5 separate regions of the Homo sapiens genome follow, and all the other regions are linked to region 5. Evidence: promoter capture Hi-C in 16 types of primary human blood cells and fetal thymus (Javierre and others, 2016). All regions are on one chromosome and are shown on one strand. Each heading gives the region's core, a stretch centred on a gene start or on the middle of the fragment in contact. The rest is flanking DNA. Distances are from core to core; before and after follow the strand shown.

The links. Contacts are between HindIII fragments. The CHiCAGO score rates a contact against its expected background, and 5 or more counts as called.
Region 1: the fragment with the promoter of NOP58 here is called in contact with the fragment with the promoter of INO80D in region 5 in 2 of 17 cell types (fetal thymus and non-activated CD4 T cells); the score reaches 8.9 in fetal thymus.
Region 2: a fragment that was not itself captured here is called in contact with the fragment with the promoter of INO80D in region 5 in 2 of 17 cell types (fetal thymus and activated CD4 T cells); the score reaches 5.9 in fetal thymus.
Region 3: the fragment with the promoter of WDR12 here is called in contact with the fragment with the promoter of INO80D in region 5 in 2 of 17 cell types (total CD4 T cells and non-activated CD4 T cells); the score reaches 9.8 in total CD4 T cells.
Region 4: the fragment with the promoter of FAM117B here is called in contact with the fragment with the promoter of INO80D in region 5 in 2 of 17 cell types (fetal thymus and total CD4 T cells); the score reaches 10.0 in fetal thymus.

The regions. Positions count from the first base shown.
Region 1 is chr2:202,264,471-202,267,170 of GRCh38, forward strand. NOP58 (NOP58 ribonucleoprotein) reads left to right here and starts at 1,293. Exons shown (of 15, transcript NM_015934.5): 1 at 1,293-1,516. The coding sequence starts at 1,472. The HindIII fragment of the contact is 14,423 bases long and covers 1-2,432 here.
Region 2 is chr2:203,008,470-203,011,169 of GRCh38, forward strand. No RefSeq gene overlaps it. Among named protein-coding and RNA genes, the nearest start is that of NBEAL1, 5.1 kb to the right of the region's middle. The HindIII fragment of the contact is 1,196 bases long and covers 744-1,939 here.
Region 3 is chr2:202,910,322-202,913,021 of GRCh38, forward strand. It overlaps WDR12 (WD repeat domain 12), which reads right to left and starts at 1,352. Exons shown (of 13, transcript NM_018256.4): 1 at 1,115-1,352. The coding sequence starts at 1,155. CARF (calcium responsive transcription factor) reads left to right here and starts at 1,954. Exons shown (of 17, transcript NM_024744.17): 1 at 1,954-2,700. RefSeq lists enhancers at 1,535-1,684, 1,695-1,844, 1,885-2,084, 2,185-2,234. The HindIII fragment of the contact is 1,677 bases long and covers 592-2,268 here.
Region 4 is chr2:202,633,525-202,636,224 of GRCh38, forward strand. FAM117B (family with sequence similarity 117 member B) reads left to right here and starts at 1,445. Exons shown (of 8, transcript NM_173511.4): 1 at 1,445-2,264. The coding sequence starts at 1,664. RefSeq lists silencers at 1,483-1,712, 1,903-1,952, 2,053-2,492. The HindIII fragment of the contact is 4,588 bases long and covers 1-2,700 here.
Region 5 is chr2:206,084,782-206,087,481 of GRCh38, forward strand. It overlaps INO80D (INO80 complex subunit D), which reads right to left and starts at 1,393. Exons shown (of 11, transcript NM_017759.5): 1 at 1,120-1,393. INO80D-AS1 (INO80D antisense RNA 1) reads left to right here. Exons shown (of 2, transcript NR_186084.1): 2 at 1,176-2,700. RefSeq lists silencers at 124-418, 320-369, 410-609, 630-799, 880-1,089 and enhancers at 1,140-1,429, 1,156-1,975, 1,480-1,529, 1,540-1,649. The HindIII fragment of the contact is 4,007 bases long and covers 1-2,485 here.

The sequences.
Region 1 (2,700 bases), core at 43-2,542, 3.8 Mb before region 5:
CCTTCGCCTCAAGGCAGGGCTTGAAAGGGGATAAAGTCTAATGGCACTAGCTGGCATTTCAAATTCTAGATGCCTGAGGCAGACTGGCACCGAAACAGCTCCTCGTTTCTCTCAAAGTGAACATATAATTCATAGAGGGTTAACAAAATAATATCGTGAAGTTTTTCCCCTTTAAATCTCTAGCGGTGGCGGGGCGCGGTGGCTCACGCCTGTAATCCCAGCACTTTGGGAGGCCGAGGTGGGAGGATCCCTTGAGGTCAAGAGTCCGAGACCAGCCTGGGCAACATCGTGAAACCCTGTCTCTACAAAAAATTAGCTGGGTGTGGTGGCACAGGCCTGTAGTCCCAGCTGCTCCGGAGGGTGAAGTGGGAGGATCGCTTGAGCCTGGGAGTTGGAGGTTGCAGTGAGCCGTGATAGTGCCACTGCACTCCAGCTTGGGCAACAGCCAGACTGTCTCAAAAAAAAAAAAAAAAAAAAAAAAAAAAAAAAAAAAGGCCGGGCCTAGTGGGTCACGCCTGTAATCCCAGCACTTTGGGAGGCCGAGGCGGGCGTATCACGAGGTCAAGAGATCGAGACTATCCTGGCCAACATGCTGAAACCCCATCTCTACTAAAAATACAAAAATTAGCTGGGCGTGGTGGTGTGTGCCTCTAGTCCCAGCTACTGGGGAGGCTGAGGCAGGAGAATTTCTTTTTTTTTTTTTTTTTTTGAGACGGAGTCTCGCTCTGTCGCCCAGGCTGGAGTGCAGTGGCAGGATCTTGGTTCACTGCAAGCTCCGCCCCCTGGGTTCAGGCCATTCTCCTGCCTCAGCCTCCCGAGTAGCTGGGACTACAGGCGCCTGCAACCACACCCGGCTAATTTTTTGTATTTTTAGTAGAGACGGAGTTTCACCGTGTTAGCCAGGATGGTCTCGATCGATCTCCTGACCTTGTGATCCGCCCGCCTCGGCCTCCCAAAGTGCTGGGATTACAGGCGTGAGCCACTGCGCCCGGCTAGGAGAATTTCTTGAACCCGGGAGGCGGAGGTTGCAGTAAGCCGAGATCACACCACTGCACTCCAGCCTGGGTTACAGAGCGAGACTCCGTCTCCAAAAAAGAAAAAAAGAAAAAAGAAAAAAAGGCGCAAAGGCTCCGTTCAGGCCCTAGATCCCGCGATACAAACTTTCTCGGCCCGCCCCAGCCCGCTGTGGCGGGAACATTCTGGAAGTGACGGCAATCTCTGCGGCAGTCTTCTGTCGGAAGTGACGTTGCTATCCCAGAATCCTCAGAGAAGGAGTAGCGCGTTCGTGCGTCCTAGTTCCAGTACAGCGTGGAGGGTTTAGGCAGCGTGTTCTGATTCTTTGCGGGACGGCGAGCGCATTTGTGCTTTGCCCGCCGCGGCCTAGGAGGCCTTTTGAGGCCGCGTAGTCGGTGTTTTTGAACTGACTCTACAGCTTCTGGCAGGCCGTGCGGCGCCCTGACCCGGCCTCACCATGTTGGTGCTGTTTGAAACGTCTGTGGGTTACGCCATCTTTAAGGTAGGTGGGAGAGCGAGCCGTTAAAGGGGGAAGGCGGATGCTGGACAGACGAGGAGAGGGAAAGACTTAAGCACGGAACTACTCAGAGTAGCGTGGGTGCCTGTTATAGCCCGGGCTCTGGGAGGAGGGAGAAGGCCTTTACACCTGAGAGCCATGTTACGTGTAACACGTGGCCCCGCCGTTTGGGGAGACCCGTTCTGCATTAGAGGATTTTATTTCCTCCCGTTGAAGGGGTGGGCAGGAGGCGTGTTAGAATTTAACAGATTATAGGGAATTCGGACTTTATTCTAGATGTTTTGAGGAATGATCGAAAGATTTTTTTTTTTTTTGAGATGGAGTTTCGCTCTTGTTGCCCATGCTGGAGTGCAGTGGCGCAATCTTGGCTCACTGCAACCTCCGTCTCCCGGGTTCAAGCGATTCTCCTGCCTTGGCCTCCCGAGTAGCTGGGATTACAGGCCTCCATCCACCACCACGCCTGGCTAGTTGTTTTTGTTTGTTTGTTTGCTTTTAGTAGAGACGGGGTTTCACCATGTTGGCCAGGCTGGTCTTGAACTCCTGACCTCAAGCGATCCACCTGCCTCGGCCTCCCAAAGTGCTGGGATTACAGGCGTGAGCCACCGTGCTCGGCCAATCGAAAGGATTTAAGCAGAGGAATGACCTGCTAATTTGTCTTAATACGGTTACTCTGCTGTGTGGAGATTAGACTCGAGGAGATAAGAACGGCAGCAAGAATACTTTTGCATTCATTTGGACAAGATGAAATTGCCTGGTATGGAGAGAAACAAATATCGATAGAAATTGTGAAGGTAGAACAGGAAGGACTGGCTAATAGATTGAATGTGGGGTTTTGGTTTAAATAAGATGTTAAGAAAGTTTCTTGGGGAAGGACTAAAGATTTCCGGTTTGGGCTGTGCGAAGCTTGCGTTGTCTATTAGACCTGATAATGCAGTTGTGTAGATCGGGCAGTTCAGTATTTCAGATTTGAAGCTTAGGGGAAAACATCTGGGCTGGTGATGTCAGTTTGAGGTTTGGTTGTTTTCGTGGGGAAAGTTTGACAAGTTCGTCAGCACTGAAATGGTTGAATGGTAAGACATTCGTATCGCAAGATGCTGTTGAGATGTTAGGAAGAATGAGTGAGATTGAGTGCCTTTTCTTGTGCGGTGCAACTCTTCTGAGGTCTGTGA
Region 2 (2,700 bases), core at 92-2,591, 3.1 Mb before region 5:
ATGGGAGAAATATCACTGAATTCTTTTTCTCAGCAAGGAACATCCCTGAGAAGGAGAATGCGCCCCTGAGGGTGGGCCTCTAAAATGGCCCCCTTCGGTGTGGCCGTTTTCTATGTTCAAGACTGTAGGGATGAAATAAGCCCCAGTCTCCCATAGTGCTCCCAGGCTTATTAGGACGAGGAAATTCCCGCCTAATAAATTTTGGTCAGACCGGTTGCTCTCAAACCCTGTCTCCTGATAAGATGTTATCAATGACAATGGTGCCCGAAACTTCATTAGCAATTTTAATTTCGCCCCAGTCCTATGGTCCTGTGATCTCGCCCTGCCTCCATTTGCCTTGTGATACTCTATTACCTTGTGAAGTATGTGATCTCTGTGACCCACACCCTATTCGTACACTCCCTCCCCTTTTGAAAATCCCTAATAAAAACTTGCTGGTTTTACGGCTCAGGGGCATCACAGAACCTACCGACATGTGATGTCTCCCCCGGATGCCCGGCTTTAAAATTTCCCTCTTTTGTACTCTGTCCCTTTATTTCTCAACCTGGCCGACGCTTAGGGAAAACAGAAAAGAACCTATGTGACTATTGGGGGCAGGTTCCCCGATACTCAAGAGATATTTTAATATATTTTAAAATAAATGAAAATGAAAATACAACTGATGAAAATTTGAGGAATGTAGCCAAAACAAGAGGGAATTTTGTAGCATTGAATATTAGAAAAAAAAAGATCTAAAGTCAGTAAGCTTCTACTGTAGGAAACTAGAAAAAGAAGAGCAAATTAAATCCAAAGTAAGCAGAAGAAAAGAAATAACAAAAATTAGAGCAGAAATAAATGAAATTGAAAAAAGAAATTAATAAAGGTAATCAGCAAAACCAAAGGTGTTTTTTAGAAAAGATCAGAAAATCTGAATGCATATAGACAGGCTAGCTAAAAAAGTGTGAAAGTGTGGATAGAAGAGAAAGAGCTTCGATGGGATTTAGGAAAGGAATGTCAAAGAACAAAAACTTGACCATATGTCTCCAGATCTGCCCAAGGGAAACTGCTCTATCTAGCAGAACCAAGTATCTGCTCCGATTGGCAGGTTGCACATAGTGGAAATGGCTGCATGAAAGCTATTATAAAAGATGATACTACCATCACATTAATCCAATTAGTTGTACTTGTTATGACTCATGATGAAAAAGCAACCCTGAGAATATAATTTACTTCCCTATACATTTTTTTCTATGGGGAGATAATGCCCTGACCAAGAGATATGAATAGTCCAATTGCCTTGCCAGGGTTTTTTGTTTTTTTTGTTTTTTTTTTTTTTTAGACAGAGTCTTGCTCTGTCACCAGGCTGGAGTGTAGCGGCAAGTTCTTGGCTCACTGCAACCTCTGCCTCCTGGGTTCAAGAGATTCTCGTGCTTCAGCCTCCCAAGTAGCTGGATTTTACAGGCGTGCACCACCATGCCTGGCTAATTTTTGTATTTTTAGTAGAGATGGAGTTTCACCGTGTTGACCAGGCTGGTCTTGAACCCCTGTCCTCAAGTGATCCACCTGCCTCGGCCTCCCAAAGTACTGGGATTACAGGCATAAGCCACCATGCCCGGCTGGCAGGTATATTTTTTCATTGTTAATAAATTTAGTGGCATTCTAAGGTTATATCTGGTGAGATGAACTGAAACTCATAGCTCTGACATAAACTGAGACGCTGAGTGCAAGACCATTTAAATTAATGTGGAGGCCTTTTTCATGAAAATCAGGCCACATATATACTTTTAACATAAAAGGACAGGCTATTTTAGAAGCTGCTGGGTCATATAGTCTTATGAAAGAAAATGTTCTGAAGGCGGTAAATGTGTTTATCTTAAGGTACACTGGGAGAAAAAGTAGCTGTAGTTTCATTGGTAGAGAAACATCTCAATGTTGTTGAGGGGCTCACTCATGAAACCAAAGCTTATCCCCACTCCTGGGAGCCATCAGAAGCCTCAACAGAGGAATAATGTTGGCATCTAGCTGACACCTAGATGTTACCTAAATGCGGCAGAATTTGCCAGGCTTAAGAAGGGGCTGGGATCCACCCTTTCTTATTCTGTGAGTATAATGCGGACATTATAGAGGGGAATGGTTTAAAGACAGGACTATGGGGAAGAGACACAGGCGAACTGAGAACCAAGAAACTAGGGATTATCCAGGAGGGACATCTTATTAAACCCATGCAGTGTGGTGTTGTAATTATTGCCTTGTATGTGGTACAAAGGAAAGAATTATCTAAACAAAGGCATAACTCCTCATCTCCCCTTACTCTCTGTAGCTTTAGGGAACATTTGCACCCTTCAGAAAAATAACTACTTAATTCTCTACTAATATCCATTGGGTATTTTGTCTAAGGGAAAAGGGAAAGAAGATATTAAACTGGGGTAATCCTGGTTCACAGAAGTTTGATGGGCACCAGCCTTAGTTGAATTATCATACGGAAAAGAGAATCAACTAGTAGACTCCTAGAGACAATACGGGTAAGTTTTCTGAGTTTCTCCTTGTCAATGCATAGCTTGAGATCTCCTAGGAGACAGAAAGAAGGGACACACAGGTTACATGTTTTAGTTCTTTGTGTGTTTATTAAGGGTCAGTCCTCTGGAATCTTCCTATTTGCTGGCAAAGCTGAGGACTGCCTCTATGATAGACACCAAAGCAAAATACTGCTATCATTTGAGT
Region 3 (2,700 bases), core at 102-2,601, 3.2 Mb before region 5:
AGACCAGCATGGCCACCAAGACAAATTCCTGTCTCTACTAAAAATACAAAAATTAGCCAGGCTTGGTGGCACATGCCTGTAATTCCAGCTACTCTGGAGGCTGAGGCGGGAAGATTGTTTGAACCCGGGAGACAGAGGTTACAGTGAGCCAAGATCCCACCACTGCAGTCCAGCCTGGGCAACAGAGTGAGACTCTGTCTCCAAAAAAACCAAACCAAACAAACAAAAAAAAGCCCCACATATTTCAAAAAATTTTATTTTAAGAAAAACAAAAAAACCTACTTTCAATTAAAAAACACAGTGGTTATGTTAATGCATCACCACATTCCTAGAGAAGTATTAAGGCAATGTATGTAAGTAAGTACATATACTCAGGTGCATTGATAATACGATTTATGTATACTTTCAGCAACAACACAAGGGGAGAGAAGATGATTTACTAGCTCTCCTCATAAAGCTACAAACAAAACCACAGATGTAACTCAGGTGGGAGTTTCCTAGTTTATGGCTAACTTTAGCTTATTAACACGACAAATATTATCATTTTCACTGAAAAATTTGACATTTTTTGTTGACTCAGCCAATCCAAGAAGCTTAATTAATATATAGTCCCTGCCCTCAAGAGACTTCCAATATAGTTGGAAGAGACCAGGCAAACACAAAGAAAGCTAACAATGCAATATATACCACAAGGCAGCATATAATTAGTTTTCGAATGAGTGCTAACAGACCTTGAGACCACTGGTTAAAATGTTTATATATCTATATAGATATACATAAATGGTAAATATGTTTTTTCATTTTCAAAAACTTTTTTTCCGTTTTCAAAAACTGTGAACCACCACTAGCAGACACCCTATAACAAGGCCCACTGTTCATTTTTAAATTACACATATAAAATGTTTCATTCAGAAAGCAAACCTGAAGCCCTTCAGCCTCCTCCACACTCACAATTCAAATTATATAGAACCTACGAAGCTGGTTAGAAAGCAGGTAATCTCAGAAAAAAGGGTGGGGGTGACAGCAGAAACAACCAGGGATCCACAAGGTCATACCAAAGGGGTGGTCGGAAAGGAACCTGGGGAAGGGAGAGAAGGCTGGAACGCTTACTTACTTCTTGTTATCAGTGTAGAAGCGTGTTTGGAGCTGAGCCATGGCGAGGAGTACACACGACTTGCCCACGGAAACGTACGGGTTAGCAGACCCACAACACGAAGCTCCTGCCTTTTAAGACTACAAAGAGGCAGCTCAAAATTAGACTGCACAGGTAAGCGAGGAACTGCAGTCTAAGCCTGGACTCTGCCTTCTGCCCTCCGGTCTCCTCTGCAGAAAGCACGAGGTTGCCCTTCTACAGACGCCCAGACCACAAACATCGACTACCTACTCCTAGATTTAGGAGTCATCGATTAGAAAAGGATAGTCGTAAAGGTAGCATGTCCCTTTAATCATTGTTAGAATTCTTCCCATACGTGTGGGCCCGTAATCGATTAGGAAAAAGATCCCACTCAAATCCGCTTTATTAATAAAAAATTTTTTTTCAAGAGGCTGTCCTGAGCCTGGATAGTTCAAACACAGCTCCTAGTTACTACAAGTCTCAGAAAGCATCGCTTCTCAAACGCTGTGACCACCGGGAATTGTAGTCTTTTTTTGCCACGCTGCCCTCAGAGTATCTTATTTGCATTAAATCCTCTAGACTCCAGCCAGATATCAAATTTCCTCTGCCTTCAGCTTTGCTTGACTAACGCCTTGCCAGTTTTTTTTTCTCATACATATTCCCAACCAGAGGCTCACTCGGCAGAGGTTTTTCCTAAATCTCGCCTCTAACTGCGGCTTTTAGAGAGAGGCGAGAGGCGGAAATACAAAGAAAAGAACGGATGAGAGAGGAAACGGTCGACGGTGGCCGATAGTGGTCCTACTGTCGTGGGACTGCTCTGCGCGCTCCCGGTGGGGCGCGCCTGCGCATTATGCTGGTCTCCATGGCGGGGCCTCGGAGCCAAGACGAGGTTGAGTAGACTCGTTTTGAATTTTCTCCCCTCTGCTCCGGCGGACTTCCCATGTCGCCTTGTGGGGCTATCGGCGGCGGCAGGACTGGGGGAGTCAGAGGTCTGGCAGCGCTGTCTGCGCAGACCTACCGGACGCTACCTCCCAACCCCCCGTCTTCCTCCTGCCTCCTCCTCCTCCCGTCACCTCCTGACCCGCCGGAGCTCCGAGCAACTGCCGGCCTCCGCCCCCAGCCGCAGCCGGTCACTGGCGGCGCCTTCCGCGCCAAGCTTGGGGGCCTTTTCGGGGTCCCACATGGCACGGCTTCCGACCCCCGGCCCGGGACGGGGCTCGCAGGCCCCAGAGGGGCAGGCTGGAGAAGGAGGAGGTTAGGTGTCTTCAGGAGGGTTGCTGAGCCCAAGGACGCGCCATCGCCGCGGAGAAGGAGCCGGACCCCTTGGGCGGAGCGCCCAATGTGTGGTCCCTCACGCCGTCCCGCACCTTGCTTTTTAGGGTTCTTTTTCCGCTTTCTGAGCCCTTTTATACCTTACGTTTAGAAGGGGAAAATCATCCTCCCACACCTTCTCCCCGACTTTTTGCCTTTTTTGTCTTGAAGTTACCCAAAGGCCTGTGTATTGTTCTCAATGGTCCCAAGAATTACTCTAATATAGTTGTTTTTCTGAGGGAGGATGGATGGAGATAACTATCCTGATCCCAATG
Region 4 (2,700 bases), core at 195-2,694, 3.5 Mb before region 5:
CCTTCCACCTCACGCCTGTAATTCCAGCATTTTTGGAGGCCGAGGTGGGCGGATCATGAGATCAAGAGATCAAGACCACCCTGGCCAACATGGTGAAACCGCCTCTTTACTAAAAACAGAAAAATTACGGGGCGTGGCGGCACGCGCCTGTAATCCCAGCTACTTGGGAGGCGGAGGCAGGAGAATTGCTTGAACGCGGGAGGCGGAGGTTGCACTGAGCCGAGATTCGAGCCAGTGCACTCCGCCACTGCACTCCAGCCTAGGTGACAGAGAGAGACTTCTTCTCAAAAAAAAAAAAAAAAGGCCTTCCACCACCGCGCAAAGGGACCCAGTAGGATTTCAGGTCCAGAGTGAATCATACTATGCCCTCCACTCCCACATTTTTACACGACGAAATCTGTCTAGCATGTACAACTAATAAAAATAGTAGAGGGAAAAGAGGTCATGGATAGGCAATTTATAGCCAGACAGGTGGGAGTGTAGGTTTTGGCTCCACCATTTTTTATTTTCTTGATGAGGAGCCCTTTAGGTCATTTTAGAAATAGTGTCACTGCCTGCCTTCCCGAGTCTTTGCCACACCAAAGACTTGTTTCCTCCGCTAGACAAAAATATGGATGGCTGTCCCAGTTCTGTCTCAAACAATGATCGTGTAGAATCAAATAAGGCCCTCTGTAAACTATAGCACTTTACAAACTGGTAAGGTAGCAGCCATCCTTCCAAGGTATCAGGGAACAGCGAAGCAGCTGATTAAAATAGTCTTGATTACTTGAGATACAGGAGGGTAGGAATAACATGTGGTAACTGAACTCTATAGATACTATCTAAAATCGCATTCTAACAGGCAAGTTTAATCTTTCTGAGATTTGCCTCTTTGTAGAGCTCTAAAAAATAAAAGGAGAGGGGCGTAAAATGCCAGTAAGATTAGTTAAATTTCTTCTCCTTTTGAGCCCTGCCCATAGGTAGATGGAATTAGGGCAGAACAAAAACATTAAGAATAAAAGCCCGAACGAGATGCGCGTACAGGTGAACACAAGTGAACACTGGGGTAAGGAAATGAGTTATGCGGAAAAGGCTTCAGACCATCCCTGGGAACTGCTCCGGGTCTGGACATTTCCTTTGGCAACCTTCCAGAGTCTGAGTCCCCAGGGCTCCCCCCGGCGGGAAAGGAAAGGCGCGCGTGGCTAGGCGCGCGCGTACACGGGCACTCACGTGTACACACACACGCGCGCACACTACACATACACACAGGGCCCATTTCCTCCGCTCCCTCCCCGCGGGGGGCGGGTCTCTTTCTCTTTAAAGAGCAGACGGTCTCCGCGCACACCCAGGCTCTCAAGGCCTCGGGGGCCCGGGACCCGAGCTGCTCGTAGCCAATGGGAGCAGTGGAGCGGCTCGAGCGCGGCTGACGCTGCACCAATGGGCGATCGTGGGGGGCGGGGGCAGCAGAGGAGACACTATTGTTGATGAGGAGCGGCGGCGGCGGCGGCGGCGGCTGCACCACCTCGTTGCTGCCTGCCCCGGCCCGGTCTCCCCCTGCACCCCGGAGTCCGGCTTCGTCACCCCGTCTTGGGGGGCCTGCCCTCCGGCCTCGAGAATCCTCCCCCTGCAGCCCAACAACAACAAAACCCCCCGTCTCGCCCAGTCACCGGGGAGGGGGGGGACCATGTCCCAGCGGGTGAGGCGCAATGGGTCCCCCACGCCGGCCGGCTCCCTTGGGGGTGGTGCGGTGGCCACGGCCGGGGGACCCGGGAGCCGCTTGCAGCCCATGAGGGCGACGGTTCCGTTCCAGCTGAAGCAGCAGCAGCAGCAGCAACATGGCAGCCCCACGCGGAGCGGCGGCGGCGGCGGCGGCAACAACAACGGTGGCTGCTGTGGTGGCGCCTCAGGCCCCGCAGGCGGCGGCGGCGGCGGTGGCCCGCGCACCGCCTCGCGCAGCACCAGCCCCACGCGCGGCGGCGGGAACGCGGCCGCGCGCACCAGCCCCACGGTGGCCACGCAGACGGGCGCGTCCGCGACGTCCACGCGAGGCACCAGCCCCACGCGCAGCGCCGCGCCTGGAGCTCGCGGGAGCCCCCCACGGCCGCCGCCGCCGCCGCCGCTGCTGGGCACCGTGTCGTCGCCCAGCTCGTCGCCCACCCACCTGTGGACCGGCGAGGTGAGCGCGGCCCCACCCCCAGCCCGCGTCCGGCATCGGAGGAGGTCTCCGGAGCAGAGCCGAAGCTCGCCGGAGAAGAGGAGCCCCAGCGCCCCGGTTTGCAAAGCAGGTAAGTGCTGGGGGTCGCGCAGCAAGGGGGAGGCGGCTGCGGGAAGGGGTCCCGGGCGCGCGCTGCAATCGCGCGGGGACTGCAGAGCTGCCGCGGAGCCCGGGTGGCTGGGGGCGGGGCTGGGGGCGGTGCCGGGCGGTGGGGGACCCGGCAGTGCGGCCCCGCCTTTCCCGGGCCTACCCTACGCCCCGCCCGCCCGCCCGCCTCATTCACCCCTCTGCCCGCCCCGCACGGCTCCCTGGTGGTGGAGGTGCAGCGGCTAAACCTTGGGCTTGAGCTGATGAGTGTTAATGATAAACCTGGCTTCCTGGCCTTACTCCTGGAGGAGTCGTTACTGCTTACCCTCCCTTGAGGGTGAGGCTAGGAGTGGTTTGTCACTTTGTTTTAGGGACAAGGTTAATGTTGGCATAGCCCATATCTGCTGCTGCTAAGTATT
Region 5 (2,700 bases), core at 143-2,642:
TGGTGGGGTAAGGGCTAAAAAAGGCAATAGGGAAAGATTGTCCGGCAGAAACACCACCTGAGTTTACCTCCTCCTTCCCACCCCAAAAACCCAGTCACTAACTAATAAAGCTAAGAAAAGCCCCTTGCAAACTTTTCCAAACCGGAAGAGAAGGCCCTCTCCCCAACCTGGGGGGCTCTAGGGGGAAGGGGCTGGAGTTAGCAGCCCCGAATGGGCTCGCGGGGAGTTGGGTGGGGCGCGGGCGAGGGGTGCAGGGGCGGAGTACCTTCTTCAATGGACAGGAACTGGCAAAGAGTTTCAAAATAGCCGAGTGCGCTCCCCCACGCCCTGGGGGGTCCCGGGCGCTAGGACCAGGGCTCCCCGGAGAGACAGCGGCCCCCAGTTCGGGCCTAAAAGGAAACTTTCTGGGCCGCGGCTGCACCTGACTCCTCACCGCCCCTCCACCCGACCCCACGCCCGCCAGGCCGCCCGCCCCGCCCCGCCCCGGCCTGGCCGTCCGGAGCGCGGAGGAGGGGGATAAATAAATTCAACTCTTACCGGAATCTGGGGGCCGTCTGCGAGAGACCCGGGGGAAGGGGAGCCGGGCGCCCATTCCCCACTCCCCACTCCTAGGCCCTGACGCCCCTGTCCCGGCAGCCCGGGCCTGCCGCCCCGCGGGAAAGCCTCCGGGCCGGCGCGGGATTCGGCCCAGCAGCGCCGCCGTCCCACCCGGAGACCCCGGGGGACTCGAGGGGGCGCGCGGAGGCCCGGGGTGCGGGGGCAGGGCGCGGCTGCCGTGGGGCCTACCGGCCCGAGGCCTACCGGCGCCCCCCCCTCCCGCCGCACACCCCCACCTGGCCCGCGCAGGCCGCTCCGCTCGCCCCACTCCGGCTCCGGCTGGACCCCTGCCCGCCCGCCGTCGCCGCCCGCGGGCGCCCCGGAGGCCCTCAGGCCCCCGGCCTCCACCACCCGGGCGCCGGCCCCACTCACCCTTTCATTCTCCGCCCGGGGCCTGGCGTGGGCCGGCGAATCCCCGGCCTCACGTAAGCGCGCTCGCCGCCCGCCCAGCCTGCGCGGCCCAGCCCGCCGCCCTACGGGAGCCCGGGGATGTGGGCCGGGCCTGGGGCCGCCTCTGCTTACCTTTCAGCTGCTTTTTTTTTTCTCCTTCCCCCCTGTTCCCTCGGCTGGGCTGACAGATCAGAGTGAGAGGCGCTGGCAATGGACTAGGAAGCTCGGCTGCCGCTGCTACTGCTCCCCCCTGGGCTCCGGCGAGAGCCTTTCCCTGTCAAGCAAGAGGGGTGAGGATCATATTTTTATTTTGGAAACTAAAAAGTGCTCCCAGGGTCGGTGATTATTAAGGGGAAATCCCTGAATATACTCTCCAGCCAAGAAGGCAGGGCTGCCGGGGCTGTACAAGAAGAGGCAGCAGCCTCCTACAGCACCACTACAGGCACTGCGAGGACATAACACCAGAGAGCTGCTCCTCTGCCCTCCGAAACGACAACTTTCCTACCATCTTGGAGGCAGAGCAAAGGGGGGCCAGGGGGAAAAGTGCACCCGCTCCCGATAAAGTACAAATTTTTACTTCTCATCTCTGGAAAAAAGTCCACACCGGCCGTCTACACCCGCGCCTGGGGGAGAAAGCAGGGAAGAAACGGGGGGTGCATGAGAAACGTTTTCATTTGCTCCAGGGGGAAAAATGTTTCTGCATCTTCTGATGGAAAGAAATCTTTACAAGACACAGGTTTTCCGGTGGTTATTGTTTTTTATTTTCTGTTTTTAATTTTTTTCATGTTAGTGACAGTGATATTTTAATATTTTTTTAAGCCAGTAATAATTTTTCTCCATTACAGGGCTAAGTTCTGTGGCTGGTGGTCAGTTTGTAAATTTATACTTAAAGAGACTTAATAGTAACTTCATTTATTTGTCTGGTTATGTTATTGTATATATAAATATTTATGTTTTCATATATTGCATATAAAAATTTGTGTTACATGTTACTCTCAGAACAGATTGCTGTAAGACAATTGTAAAAAAACATGTCTTTCGTCTGTTTCTCAAAGCAATGTAAATAAAACCTATGGACTGTCCAGAAAGGCATGATACAGTGTGTCATTTTCCACAGTGCAGATAAAGGCAGCTATCACTGGGGATTTAAAAACGGCCCCTGTTTCTGGAAATTCTGTTATGCTGCCCATACAGAAAGGATACAGTAAAACTGGAAAGAGATTTTAAAGACAGCCTTAGATTTTTCTTGAGGTAAAATAGCTTATTAAGAATTATATCCGGGCATTTAATTTTTTTATTTATTTAGATTCTTTAAACTCTAGCTAGATCTTTGGTGCATTACACATGTTGCTATCTGCTTTTTGTGTCACAGAATTGAGAAATGTGGCTATTTTTGTTAGTTATGTTAGTTCAGAACTTCCAATGTGCTGCCAGCCTGTATGATAGACTTTTTGTATATTGCAGTGGATGTCATGAATTTACTTTTTTAAATGAGCAAAGCTTACTAGATAAATGGGATCAGAGTTAAACAATGCTGTTAGCACAGAGGTGAGAGGGACAAAGGGTACCCATTTACATCGATTCCAATAGAACGCTTATTGGAGGATAAATTGCAGAGACATTTTTCTATTTTTGTGAAGAAAGAGAAAAATAATAGAAAAAGAACCGACTATCTTTGTATGTTCTACTGGGGATGATGATTTAAATCTTGTA